Linked DNA regions of Homo sapiens: regions 1, 2 and 4 are each linked to region 3. The links are contacts of gene promoters, found by promoter capture Hi-C in blood cells and fetal thymus (Javierre and others, 2016). All regions are on one chromosome and are shown on one strand. Each heading gives the region's core, a stretch centred on a gene start or on the middle of the fragment in contact. The rest is flanking DNA. Distances are from core to core; before and after follow the strand shown. Region 1 overlaps LOC107984215 (a long non-coding RNA gene). Region 2 holds the start of MSRB2 (methionine sulfoxide reductase B2). Region 3 holds the start of DNAJC1 (DnaJ heat shock protein family (Hsp40) member C1). Region 4 overlaps ARMC3 (armadillo repeat containing 3).

Region 1 (3,244 bases), core at 372-2,871, 1.0 Mb before region 3:
GGGGCCTTTGAAGAGTGGAAACTTAGCAGTTTACAACTATGCCAAAAACTTGATGGTGAGACTAAAGCTAAGGCTAAAAGAAATCAGATGGTTGATATTAAGAGATTTACCAAGACTTTTCTCATTTCTTGATTTCCTTTCTGGGGATTTCATATTAGTGAGTACATTCTCTGAATGTAATGGTTTAGCAGCATCAGACACAGTAAACTTGAGTCTCAGGACATTTATTTTGTAAGAAACATGTTTGAAAAGGGGCATTTTAATTATCCTGTAAGTGTTTTTAACTCAGCAGTAATGTTTACATAGCTAGTAATCATGGCTCTCAGGCATGGTGAGAGTTTTACTGTTGTTAAGTTTTGTGATGCTCTTTAAAGCCGGCTAGTATAGGTTTCATATTGTTACTTCTGAGTGGGACTCTGAAGTCTGTTGCTGGCGATTCATTGCTCTCTTTTTATTATTTATTCTATTATTATCTTATTTAGTTAAGGAAAATAATAACTGCATAAAGAAAATCTCCTCATTCAACAGTTAATTTTTCTTTTCATTCTAATCCTCAAAGGAGCAAATAATTGCATACAAGAAAAATAAGCTAAGCTTTCTATCCTGTAAGAGTCTATGCAACTAGCGTATTTATCGCTCTCTCTTATTTGTATTAATAAAATGAGACTTTTAATAAAACAATTTTCTGGAAAGCTAAATAAATGAAATCACAGAGCTAGAAAATTGTGTATGCAGATAATGACTATCAATGAGTTAGCAGATAAATGACTTGATAATACAGATATAAATGCATTCATCTAGGCTTTTCAAAGTTTTTCTAAAAGTAAAGACTGTAGAATCAAAAGGACAGCTAGACACAAACTCATATTTTTCAAAGAAAGGAACCTATAAATAAACTAATTGGACTATCACTCGATTTGTATGTCAGATATCTGAGTACTTACAGAGGCCGCTGTTTGCTTCAGCTGTTCTCATCAGTATTATTAACGACTACTTAAAAGTGCTTGATTCCATTTGTATGCCAGCTGTTCTTGTGTAAAACAAACTGGGACTTTCTCAAGATTCAGAGCCTGACTGTCTGCAGCATTTGGGGGCTGATACCTTTGAGCTGGAAAAGGAAATTAATGACTCTTAGCTCATCACTCTGAGGTCAGACCCAGACGTTTGTGACTGAAATATACCTAAAGCAGATGCTGCTCACTGGGGACTTGTCAAAATGGGAGCCTGCTCCTTTCCAAGTTCTGGTGGAAAGAAAGATCTTACCCTATATGGAGCCTTATACATTGTTAGCAGGTTAACAAGAGCCCAAGTCATCTTAACTACACAAACAACCATACTTTAAAAGGTGATAAGGCGAGGTGGGATGGCTCACACCTGTAATCCCAGCACTTTGGGAGGCTAAGGCGAGTGGATCACCTGAGGTCAGGAGTTCGAGACCAGCCTGGCCAACATGGCGAAACCCCGTCTCTACTAAATATACAAAAATTAGCCCAGCATGGTGGTGGATGCCTGTAGTCCCAGCTACTTGGAAGGCTGAGGCAGGAGGATCACTTGAGCCCGGGAGGCAGAGGTTGCAGTGAGCCAGGATTGTGCCACTGCACTCCATGCTGGGTGACAGAGCGAGATTCTGTCTCAAAAACGAAACAAGAAAAGGTAATAAGTATGCCAGTATGCAAGGGGAGGCATTCAAAGTCACAGGCAAGCTCTGTCCGCCAAGCAGCAATACTGAGTCATATAACCATAGGAAGTAATGCTGTATCCTCTCTTAATGAAACACTCACACACAGGTAGCAAAGGTGTTGGTGATGGGGAGTGATTTCAGACATTAGCTCCAAAGACAGAATTTCTGCATTTTGACATTCTATTCTACAAATTCAAAAGTAAAGGTGTGATGCTGGGCACTGTGACACACGCCTGTAATCCCAGCACTTTGGGAGGCTGAGGCGGGTGGATCACTTGCGGTCAGGAGTTCAAGACCAGCCTGGCAATATGGTGAAACCCCGTCTCTACTAAGAATACAAAAATTAGCTGGGTGGTGGTGGTGTACGCCTGTAATTCCAGCTACTCGGGAGGCTGAGGCAGGAGAATTGCTTGAGCCTGGGAGTTGGAGGTAGCAGTGGGCCAAGACGGCGCCAGTGCATTCCAGTCTGGGCAACAGGGTGAGATCCTGTCTCAAAAAAAAAAAAAAAAAGTAACCGTGTGGTCATCATATTTGTTACACTGAAAGGCCAAAGGAAATCAGTACCTAATCAGAAATGGGAGTGATTTTCTTTACCACCCAACTACTTTCAAAAATATCCAAAAGAAAATAAAAATGAATTCCAATTCCATTTTAGTCTTTAAGATCAGTTAGTTTAAGGCATTCAGATAGTCAACAAATATTATTCAAGTTATCCGTTTGCAAGGAGCTCTTGAGAGTAAGGTGTATGCCCAACATAGAATTCCTTTCCATCTCTTCAGGAGAGATCAAAGCATAATAGCTAATAGTTGTCAAATGCTTACAATTGTTAAAGCAAAATAAAAATGGAGGCCACAGTTTAGGTATACCCAAAGCCCAGCTGCCCGTAGCTGTGTAAACAAAACTTAAGTCATCCTGATTTTCCCAAACCTTTCACCATAAAGGTAAACATAACACAAATGTAAGCTTTTTGTCTTTATCAGACTGATTCAGTGAAATTAAACCAATAACCTATCAATAAATCAGCTTAAACAGTTTGGTTTGCCTTAATAAAGACTATATGACAGCCAATTATGAAAAAGACCAAAATCCTTCCTCCTTTGTGCTCTATGAACTGCACTGTTACTGCTGTAAAATTGAGACATTGAGGTCTCCCAGTTTGTGAACTATTCTTTTGTGTGCAGGATAAACTCTTAACATTCTAACTGGATCTGATTTTATTTTTGACGTTATGTTCAGTACTGTACATGGACTTATTTACTTCTGAGAGCAACCTTATGAAGTGGTTACTATTATTACATCCCCATTTTAGAGATGTAGAAACCAAGACATTTGCTAAAGATCCCACAGCTAAGAATGGTTTAAGTAGGACACTCCAACCCGAGCCTCTCTGACTCCAAGGATCTGCATGCTTCTAACCATGATATCACATACATGTGCATTAAGAAAACAGCAACCCCAGGCAGTAAGCATATGAAAAAATGCAAAATGAGTGCCAAAGATGCTATGAGAGAAGGTCACCAGTAGAGCATAAGGCATCAGGGGAAGCTTAGGGAGGAAAGTGAG
Region 2 (3,467 bases), core at 131-2,630, 1.1 Mb before region 3:
GATCCCAGGGCAATTCATTAGGCTGCTTCTGACAGCAGCAATTACAGCCATGAAGTAGTTACCGCTAAAACCACCATCCTTTTTCAAGGGGTTATAGAGAGCTCGTCGGTAACTGTGACCTGTTTCTATCACCTGTGGTTCTCAGCAATACAATGCTTGGCACACAGTAGGCTCACAGCAAATGTCATCAGACTGACTAGAGACACCAGTGATTAGAAAGGCCATAGCTGGAAGTCAAGTTGGATGAGCTAACATTCCACAACGCCAACGCTTTTATTTAGTTACGTATTCTTTCAATATTGCATTTCGAAAACTTCAGGGGCTAAAAAGAGCTCAGAATGAGTTGGTACATTTTCATCAGTTGGGTATCTCTGAATGTCTTCAATGAACACATATAAAATTGGATTCAGAGTGGGTCAGTCTGGCAACCGCCCAGGAAGCCAATCCCCTGGGGCACTAAGTTACCCTGAAATAGAACTGAAATACAGGGGTAGCTGGCACAGGTCTCCCGAGGTGACTCCTTCCTGCTTGGTGAAATGTGCAGGTACCCAGATCCAAGAGAGGATCCAAAAGTATTTAGCAGAAACACACACACACACACACACAGAGAGAGAGAGAGACACACACACACAGGCTCGCCCTGGTCTCTGTCTCAGTCATTAACAATGGCTGTCACCTTAAAGAAGGAACAAATGATCAACCCAGTCTCCCTGGCTCTTAGACACATTTATGGGAAGTCAGCAGGGCAGGAAACACTCACAGGAACCCCAAGTCTGAACTGCCTGCTTCTCAGATGCTGGAAGGAAGCCCGCGGAACTACGAAGAGGGCTGCAATGCAAAATACTAGGGGCCTTCGCAGGGGCGCGCGGGCCGGGCTGCTACAGCCCAGGCCCCGGGCCTTCGCCTGGAGTCCCCGATAGGGGTCAGAGGCCCCCGAGCCCCACTTATGCCCCCACTCCCCGAGCCAAGAAAAAAAAAATTATGCGCACATTTAGGGGGATCATTTGTTCATTTCCTCGGATTCTCACAGGGGTCAGTCCCCACCCTGCCGCCACCAAGTTTACAATCCACTGTCCCAGATCCTCGGGCTGGGGGGGGGGAGGGGCGCGCCGAGGAGGGCTTAGTAGGAGGGCAGCGCCCGGCCTGGACCGGCCCTAGGCTCCCGGGTGCAGCCGGTGAAATGAAGCCGAAAGCCGTAGGCGGCGGCGGGGCCTGCGGGACCCGCGTCCTACCTGCCTCCCCCAGTCCCGGCCCGGTGCCGGGCCCGCCGCCGCCCGCTTGGCCCCGCACCGCCCGCCGAGGCGCAGTTCCGAGGGTCAGGCCCCGGAGCAACCAGAGGAGCCGCGCCATGACGCCCGCTCCGGCGCCGCTCCGCCCTCTGCCCTCTGCCCGTCTCTGCCCCTGCTCCCATCCCACCCCTCCCCCATTCTCTCCCGTCCGCCTGCGCTAGTCGGCCTCCCTCCCCACGCTCCGCCCACACCGCCAGTCCCCTCGTCTCCCTCCCCCTCTTCTCCCTCCCCTGCCCCTCCCTCCTTCCCTCCTTCCCACCTGCTCCTCCCACTATGTGCCCTGGGCCCTCCCAGGTCCCCGCCCCTCTTTCCTCCCACTCTGCCTCTCTCTCCCCCTCCCTCTTCCTCTCCTTTTCCCCTTGCCTTTCCTCCCCCTTCCTCTCCCCCTTCCTCTCTCCCTTCCCTTCCATGAGACCCTCCCCAACCCATCTCTGCATCTCCCAGCTCCTCCCACTCCTGCTCCTCCCTCGCCCTGCCCCCCTCCACCTATCCCAACTCCACTCATCCGCAGCCCAAACACTGATCTGTTTTAGTTTGCATTTTCTAGAGTCGTCCATAAATGGAATCATCCCATATGTACTTGATTTTGTCTGGCTTCTTTCACTCAACATAGTTACTTTGACATGCCTGCGTGTTTTTGCATGGAACAATCATTCATTGCTTCCTGAGCAGTATTCCATTTATGGATATACCACCGTGTGTTTAGTCAGCACTTGATTTAGCCTGCTTTCAATTTTTCCTGATTAGAACTACAGCTGCTAGGAACATCCCTGTGCAAATCTTTGTACAGACATATACGGTTTTTCCTCTCTGGGGTAAATACCTGGAAGTGGAATGCCCAGGTCGTAAGGTAGGTGTAACCATTTAAGAAACTACTATACTGTTTTCCCAAGTGGTTTTTTTCTTTACCTTCCCACTAGCAGTCTATGCGAGTTCCAGTTGTTCTTCATCCTTGCCAACACTTGAAAGTCCAGAGATTTTAACTGTAGATGTTCCGGTTCTGTGTAGTGGTAGCTCATTGTGGCTTTATTATGCATTCTCTAATCGTTAATGATGTTAAGCATCTTTTCATGTGCGTATTTGCAGCGAGTGTATTTTCCTTGGTGAAGTGTCCGTTCAGATCTTTTGCCCATTTAATGTTGAGTTGTTTCATTATTGAGCTTAGAACACTTTATATATTTTGGATGCAAATCTTTTATCAAACATATGCTTTACAAAGATTTTTTTTCCCAGTCTCTTGTTTGTCTTTTCTGTCTCCTAATATTGTCTTGGGAAGAGCAGTTTTTAATTTTGATGAAGCCCAATTTATCAATTTGTTAATGGATTGTTCTTTTTTTGGTATCATATTTAAGAAATCTTTGCCTAATCCAAGATCACAAAGATTCTCTCCTATGTTTTGTTCTAAAATTTTTATAGTTCTAGGTTTTACATTTAGGTCTCTGACCGATTTAGAATTTTTATATATGGCCAAAATTTTTGTTTTGTTTTGTTTATCTGTTTTGTTTTTTGCATATCTATATCCAGTTGTTCCAGCACCATTTTTATTGATTGATTGATTGATTGATTGAGACAGAGTCTCTGTCGGCCAGGCTGGAGTGCAGTGGCACGATCTTGGCTCACTGCAACTTCCATCTTCCAGGCTCAAGCAATTCTTCTGCCTCAGCCTCCTGAGTAGCTGGGATTACAGGCGTGTGCCACCACGTCTGGCTAATTTTTGTATTTTTAGTAGAGACGGGGTTTCACCATGTTGGCCAGTCTGGTCTTGAACTCCTGATCTCAGGTAATCTGCCTGCCTCGGCCTCCCAAAGTGCTGGGATTACAGGCGTGAGCCACCAGGCCTGGCTCCTAGCACCAATTTTTAAAAGACTACTCTTTCTCCACTGAACTGTTTTTGAATCTGTCAAAAATCAGTTTCCTATCAATGTGTTGTGTCTATTTCTGGACTTCCTATTTTGTCCCATTAATTAATTTGTCTATTTTTACATCAATATTACAATATCCTGATGACTGGACTTGCAACCAGCTAGCATTGGTACTGTACCTCTGTTCTTTTTTAAGGTTGTTTGGGCTATTTTAGGTCTTTTGTATTTCAACATAAATTTTAGATTCAGTCTGTCAATTTCTACACATGATCTTACTTAAGTTTTGATTGGGATTGCATTGATTCTATCCATAAGT
Region 3 (3,380 bases), core at 293-2,792:
ATAGAATCCAATTCTGTTTCAGCATGGCCTTAGAAAGAGGATGGGCTATCTTTAGATGGAGTAAGTCCCCGAGGTTCTCAGACAACATAAAGGTAAAACTCAAAAGGGAAATACTAGGCTGTCTGCTACAAGATCGGGGTAAGAATCCCAGATTTGTGGCAATATGGCACCAGTTTCAAAGGTTTTATTGCACTTAATCTAATGATCAAATTAGGAGAAAAGATGAATGTTACTATAATATGTAAAAGTAGTGCTTAAGATCATTAATTTCATCTTATTTCGATGTTTTGTTCATTGAATAAACAGTAACCTAATTTAGGGACTTGGTAAAGATGACGTTCACTTTAAGAAAACTGATATAACCAAAAATAAACTAGGCTGGGGGTGGTGGCTCATGCCTGTAATCCCAGCAGTTTGGGAGGCTGAGGTGGGTAGATCACATCATGTGAGGTCAGGAGTTTGAGACCAATCTGGCCTACACGGTGAAACCCCGTCTCTACTAAAAATACAAAAAATTAGCCAGGCATGGTGGCAGGAGTCTGTAATCCTAGCTACTCGGGAGGCTGAGCCAGGAGAATTGCTTGAACGTGGGAGGCAGAGGTTGCAGTGAGCCGAGATGGTGTCATTGCACTCCAGCCTGTGCAACAAGAGCAAAACTCCGTCTCTAAATAAATAAATAAATAAACTAAAAATCTGTGGTAGGGGGAATGGTGGTAGGGAGGTAGTCACAGGATTCAGTTCAACTAATTGAGTGCTCTCATGTGCTATGCATTGTGCTAAGCACACAATAATAAAGTCCACACAAGAGAATTGTGGTGGAGAAAATAACTTGAAAAGAGCTTGAACAGAAGCAATGCAAGACTAGAAGGTGAGACATTGTTATGGGAGAGGAGGTTTTTAGCCTGTCTTTTAAAACAGAAACATCTCAATTGAGGTCTGTTTTCAAAGGAACCCCAACTGGAGGTGGGCTAAGGTGGATAAACTACATTTCTCCTCCAACTATGATTGAGTCACCATTATTAACTGTTAATTCTACCAGGTCATTTTATGGTATTATGCCTGTAAATCTTAATTCATAATTAGAAGTATACTTTTTGTTTTGGTTTCAATTCCTTTTCTGCTCTACCTCTCTCTACTTACTAGATTTGCCCCTTTTAGAACCTGGTTCAACTTGTCCTGTCTTCTTTGCTGATGGACTAATTAAATGCATGGAAGCCATAATCAATTAATCAGGCTTCAAATATGCTTTTAGTGTTCGATAGCTAGGGGAGAGGAAGACAGTAGCTATTTCAGGGGAAGTCCACGTGGGGCGTTCCAGATGGACGCGAGATGGCTATAACCGTCCCTGTCTCTCAGCCCATGTGGGCGCAGGTACAGCTGCTCCGTGCGCGCCAGTGATTGAGAGGCATTTCACCCAGGCCCAGATCTGGGGCGCCAGGCGTCCAGGCTTCCGGCCACGCCCCCTTCCCGCGGTTGCTAGGAGACATGATGTCACCGGAAGCGAGGCCTGGGATAGGCTGAGGCGAAGGGAAGCCTCACCCACTGTGCAGCCCAGGCGCCGGGCGCTGCCTCTACAGCTGTGTGTAGGCCTGGGGGCGAGGGTCTTCGGAACGTAGCGCTGGCTGCGGCCCCGCCCGCCTACCCACCCGCCCGTCCGGCAGCCGGCTCCCGCCGCCTCCGCGCTCTGTCTGGGGCCAGCCACCTGGCGGGCCGCTCCGGTGCGCCTGCCCGCGCTTTTCACTGACAGGCGCTGTTCCCCACAGCCAGCGCCGCCCGCCACGTCCCAGCTCTCGGCCAACGGAGCTGCGCGGCGGGTGACCTTTCCGAGCCCAGCGCGATGACGGCTCCTTGCTCCCAGCCGGCGCAGCTTCCTGGACGCCGCCAGCTCGGGCTGGTGCCGTTCCCGCCGCCGCCGCCGCGGACGCCGCTGCTGTGGCTGCTGCTGCTGCTGCTGGCCGCCGTGGCGCCGGCGCGCGGCTGGGAGAGCGGAGACCTGGAGTTGTTTGACTTAGTGGAGGAGGTGCAGCTCAACTTCTACCAGTTCCTCGGGGTGCAGCAGGTAAGCAAGGAGGCGCGCGGGGCCGGGCGGAGAGGGGCCAGGGCAGGCGTCAGGCGACCCGGTTCCTCAGAGACAGCCGGACACGTAGGGCAGGGCTTGGTCACCCCGGGCTCTGGCTGCCCTCAGCTCGGGTCACCGGGGTCCTCAGCCTTGGAAGGACGTGTCCGTCTTCCCCAGATCTTTACTCCTGCTTCAACTTTTCTAGTCCCAGCCCCAGTGACAGGCTGGACGGCGCCACTAGCCTAGGGTGGCGATGCCTTCTCTCTGCTCCGGCGTTCTGGGGAAGAGCCTTCCCCCTCCAGCTGTGCTGGAGGAAGAACGAAGAGTGGTGTGGGTAGACTTTTTTTTTTTTTTAATTTAACACCTACCTTTTGCCTTCCTGTCCCCCTGAATGTGAGAAAGAGCAGCCGCTTCTCACCCTAAACTGTCATCTTCCACCGATACTTACCTCATCCTTATTCTTATTTCAGCTGCCTCCCCTCCTCTTCCCTTCTGGGAAAGTAGGAATGCACTGTGGCCAGTGTCTGTGTTGCAAAAGTTTTTCTTACTTTGTACTTCGTCATCTTTTTAGCCTGTTAGGTAGATGTTTGTTTCGCTTTCGCAGTTTAGAAATCTGGAGGAATTTGAAGCGTCTAACCAGGTTGGAGGTGTTAAGTTTTTTGAGCAGCAAAGGACTTGGGATGCGATTGGAAGAGAAGCCCCCGGTCAGTAATGTAGGAATGGGTTTTTTTTTCCCCTTTTCCTTTTGTTTCATTTCGTTTTCTTCTATAGCTTAAGACATTAACTTGTAAAATCCATTTGTTGCTTTTTAGTTCTACCATTGAGGGTGGTTGAGTGAGGGTAGATATCCAGTCTCTACCTGAAGCCTTGTGCGAAGGAGAAGATAACATTTCGCTGATTTCAGGCTTATGGGGTGAAAAATGTACACTTCACACGATCTGATTGAGCCCTTCGTACAATGCTTTGAATAGTTATGGGAGTAAAAAATTAATGTTTACGATAGTTGCCATTCAAGGCACACTTCACATGACTAGATATGAAATGCACATCCCCTTCCCCCATAGGTTATCATAAATGTGGGTGAACTATTGAACTTTTACTGAATTTTAATTTTCAGACATTGCATTTTCATTCCATCAGTGAATATAAAATTGCTGGGTTGCCAGGGTACCATGAGTGAAACAATTTTTTATTTTTGTAAGAGTTATAAAGTATAGGCATTTCACACTTCAGATTCATATGTGCAAGCAACTTTGTAATAACTATATTTATGATCTGTTGCCTGGTGCCCCTCCCTGCTTATAGATACACTATATATCTC
Region 4 (3,151 bases), core at 292-2,791, 1.0 Mb before region 3:
CCAAATCACTGCAGGTCCACAGGGCGAAATAGAAGGTGAAACCAGATTTCCTGGCTCCTATTCCAGAGATCTTTCCCATAGCAATGTAAAAGGCAATTATGCAATTGTATTACCATAAGAAGAATAAAAATCAAGTTGCCCCAATCTAAAATCTAAAACATTTTTTCACACTCAAATTAAAGGGGAAGCTGTTTGCATACAGATAAAACATCATTTTCTTACTTGTTCTTTTCTTTACTTGATCTTCTTAAGGAAGATGAAGAAGAAATACTTCGTCCATAACCAACATCTGATTTATCTTCCATAGATGAAGGTGGAGAACTAAAATTTTACACATTTAAAATTATATATAGATTAAAATTATTTGTCAACAGATGGTTTTATTCCACGAAACAGATTTTTTTCTGAAAGTCATAACTGAAGCTGACTTTTAACAGTGACATACTGTTTTTAAAGTATAAAGGAGAAGTCATTTTTTCTTTGTTTGTTTTTTGAGACAGGATCTCACTCTATCGCCCAGGCTGGAGTGCAGTGGTGCGATGATGGCTCACTGCAGCCTTGACCTCCGGGGCTCAAGCGATCCTCCCACCTCAGTCCCCCAAGTAGCTGGGACTACAGGCATGTGCTACCATACCCAGCTAATTTTTGTATTTTTTGTATAGATGGGGTTTCACCGTGTTGCCCAAGCTGCTCTCAAACTCCTGAGCTCAAAGGATCCTCCTGCATCAACCTCACAAAGGGTTGGGATTATAGGCATGAGCCACTGCAAGAAGACTATTATAAAGCCTTTCATAAGCTAGAACAGAAATTATTTGTATAAAATGTATCACATAACTACTATATGGATATATAGATATACACGATCTCTCGCTCTCTCTCTTTTTTTTTTTTTTTTTTTGAGACGGAGTCTTGCTCTGTTGCCAGGCTAGAGTGCAGTGGCAGTGCAATCTCAGCTCACTGCAACATCCGCCTCCCGGGTTCAAGTGATTCTCCTGCCTCAGCCTCCTGAGTAGCTGGGATTACAGGCGTGCGCCACCACACCCAACTAATTTTTGTATTTTTTAGTAGAGACAGGGTTTCACCATGTTGGCCTCGATCTCTTGACCTCGTGATCTGCCCGCCTCGGCTCCCAAAGTGTTGGGATTACAGGTGTCAGCCACCGTGCCCGGCCATGGTCATTTTAAAGAAGACCATGGAAGCTTTAATTTTTAGCTCTATCATTTACTTCTTATTTCAAAGAAAAATGTTGGGTGGTAACTGTACTCCAGCACATAGTCCTGGAGAATTGTAAACATGATTCATCTCGGTTTGCTGCTATTTACACTTTCTTCAATGACTCCATGGTAAGAGGCCTTGACTTCAGAATACACTTGAAATTGACTGGCAGTATAGAGTCAAAGAAAGAGAGCAGAGAGTGCATTGATTTGCAGTGGTGGCTATTTCATGGTTATTCCATGTCGGGCTATGAGTTTATGAGCCAGTGTTTATTTTCATGGAGGTGCTAGATACAGGAGAAAAGGGTCTGGGAATCTTTGCATATTCACACGTTGGTGGAGAAACAACAACAACAAGCAGTATGTGCTTCCCTTCATCCCCTCTCCCTGCAGAGACTCACACGTAAGATTTACTGTTGATTAAGAGTACAGCCCGTAGGTCACTTGGTTCTTGTAAGCAGAGCTCCTTCAAAGGCAACAGTTTGGTGCCGGGATTTATCTGTGAGATAATTTAAGGACCAAAAAGTAGTATCTGCAGGGGTCATATTTTCGAAAATGAATACAGATAGAATATATTCTCAGCTGTTTGCGGTGTCTCATTTCACACACACAAACACACACATGTACAATATACATATATAAAATTAGAAATAGGAACCTGAAGCTTGTGGATGTTCTTGCCTTTGGGCAGGACAGATCCAGTTCCTTATCATCTCGATTGCTTTACACTCGGCTGTTTCATCCCATCATTATCATCTTGGCCCCTGGAAGTATTTGGATTGGCAAATCCATCTATATACCTAAGGGAGAGCTGACTGCCTGCAAAAGTAACTGAATACTGGAACAGATGACTAAAAGTGTTGTGAGTGTATCTAAAAGTAGGCTAGACAAAGCCCTGTGCAGGCAGTTTCACAAGCCTGGAGGAAGAGGGCTAGACTAGATCACTTTTGAGATCTTTTTCCAATTAAGTTATAGTTGAATCCCTTTCTCATCCAAGATACATTTCATGGTCCTTTGGGAAGAAGGCAAAAGAGAGCCTTTTAAAATAAGACCAATCCTGTCATTCTTCTGCCCAGGACACTGCCACGGTTCCTGTTCCATTCAGAGTAAAGGCCTTTAACCTGGCCTTCGTTAGCTCTCTGGTCTAGGGTCTGCTCTCCTCGCACTTTGCTAGCCCAGCTCTAGCTGCACCGGCCTTCCTGCTGTGCCTAGCACATGCCAAACATATATTCACCACACGGCTCTTGCACTGCTTGATTCTTCTGCCTAGAAAACAACCCCAGATTTGCCCAGGACTTCCCCCAGCCCCAGATTTGCCCGGGACTAAGGTCCTCACCTGCTGCAAGTTTTGGCTTGGAAATGATCACCCTCTCAGTGATACCCACCTGACTGCAACTTCTAAAATTGCAACCGCCCACCTCAGGGCTCCCCAGCATTTCAGAGCCCCTCACCCTCCCTCTGCCCAGCTCTCTTCTCCCTCCATGGCACCTCTCATTTCTTTTTTTTTTCCCCCTTTTTTGAGATGGAGTCTAGCTCTGTTGCCCAGGCTGGAGTACAATGGTGCCATCTCGGCTCACTACAACCTCTGCCTCCCAGGTTCAAGTGATTCTCCTGCCTCAGCCTCTCGAGTAGTTGGGATTACAGGTGCGTGCCACCATGCCCAGCTAATTCTTGTATTTTTAGTAGAGACAGGGTTTCGCCATGTTGGTCAGCTGGTCTCCAACTCCTAACCTCAGGTGATCCACCCGCCTCGGCCTCCCAAAGTGCTGGGATTACAGGCGTGTGCCACCGCACCAAGCCAGTGCCTCTCATTTTTACCCTGGGATATCATTTATTTCAGTATCATGTTTGGTGTTTATTCTCTGTCCTCCAGCACTGGTACCATGGAAGCGGAGACCTTGGTCTCCTTTGTTCACTGACGTATTCACAGCCTCCAA

Evidence for each region. Contacts are between HindIII fragments. The CHiCAGO score rates a contact against its expected background, and 5 or more counts as called.
Region 1: a fragment that was not itself captured here is called in contact with the fragment with the promoter of DNAJC1 in region 3 in 3 of 17 cell types (naive CD4 T cells, M2 macrophages and total CD4 T cells); the score reaches 6.0 in naive CD4 T cells.
Region 2: the fragment with the promoter of MSRB2 here is called in contact with the fragment with the promoter of DNAJC1 in region 3 in 8 of 17 cell types (activated CD4 T cells, non-activated CD4 T cells, naive CD4 T cells and 5 more); the score reaches 9.5 in activated CD4 T cells.
Region 4: a contact is called between a fragment that was not itself captured here and the fragment with the promoter of DNAJC1 in region 3, in 10 of 17 cell types (total CD8 T cells, naive CD4 T cells, total B cells and 7 more). The highest score is 8.6, in total CD8 T cells.

The regions. Positions count from the first base shown.
Region 1 is chr10:23,044,008-23,047,251 of GRCh38, reverse strand. The region is part of intron 2 of LOC107984215 (a long non-coding RNA gene); the gene reads left to right. Among named protein-coding and RNA genes, the nearest start is that of MSRB2, 50 kb to the left of the region's middle. The HindIII fragment of the contact is 2,050 bases long and covers 597-2,646 here.
Region 2 is chr10:23,093,492-23,096,958 of GRCh38, reverse strand. MSRB2 (methionine sulfoxide reductase B2) reads right to left here and starts at 1,380. Exons shown (of 5, transcript NM_012228.4): 1 at 1,233-1,380. The coding sequence starts at 1,350. It overlaps LOC107984215 (a long non-coding RNA gene), which reads left to right and starts at 1,680. Exons shown (of 3, transcript XR_001747394.2): 1 at 1,680-2,139. RefSeq lists a silencer at 1,103-1,572. The HindIII fragment of the contact is 9,169 bases long and covers 1-3,467 here.
Region 3 is chr10:22,001,892-22,005,271 of GRCh38, reverse strand. DNAJC1 (DnaJ heat shock protein family (Hsp40) member C1) reads left to right here and starts at 1,542. Exons shown (of 12, transcript NM_022365.4): 1 at 1,542-2,059. The coding sequence starts at 1,838. RefSeq lists enhancers at 1,289-1,418, 1,449-1,498, 1,378-1,878 and a silencer at 1,539-1,908. The HindIII fragment of the contact is 6,929 bases long and covers 1-3,380 here.
Region 4 is chr10:23,005,446-23,008,596 of GRCh38, reverse strand. ARMC3 (armadillo repeat containing 3) reads right to left here. Exons shown (of 19, transcript NM_173081.5): 14 at 1,616-1,713; 15 at 223-321. All of the region lies in intron 2 of LOC107984215 (a long non-coding RNA gene), which reads left to right. Among named protein-coding and RNA genes, the nearest start is that of ARMC3, 79 kb to the right of the region's middle. The HindIII fragment of the contact is 679 bases long and covers 1,202-1,880 here.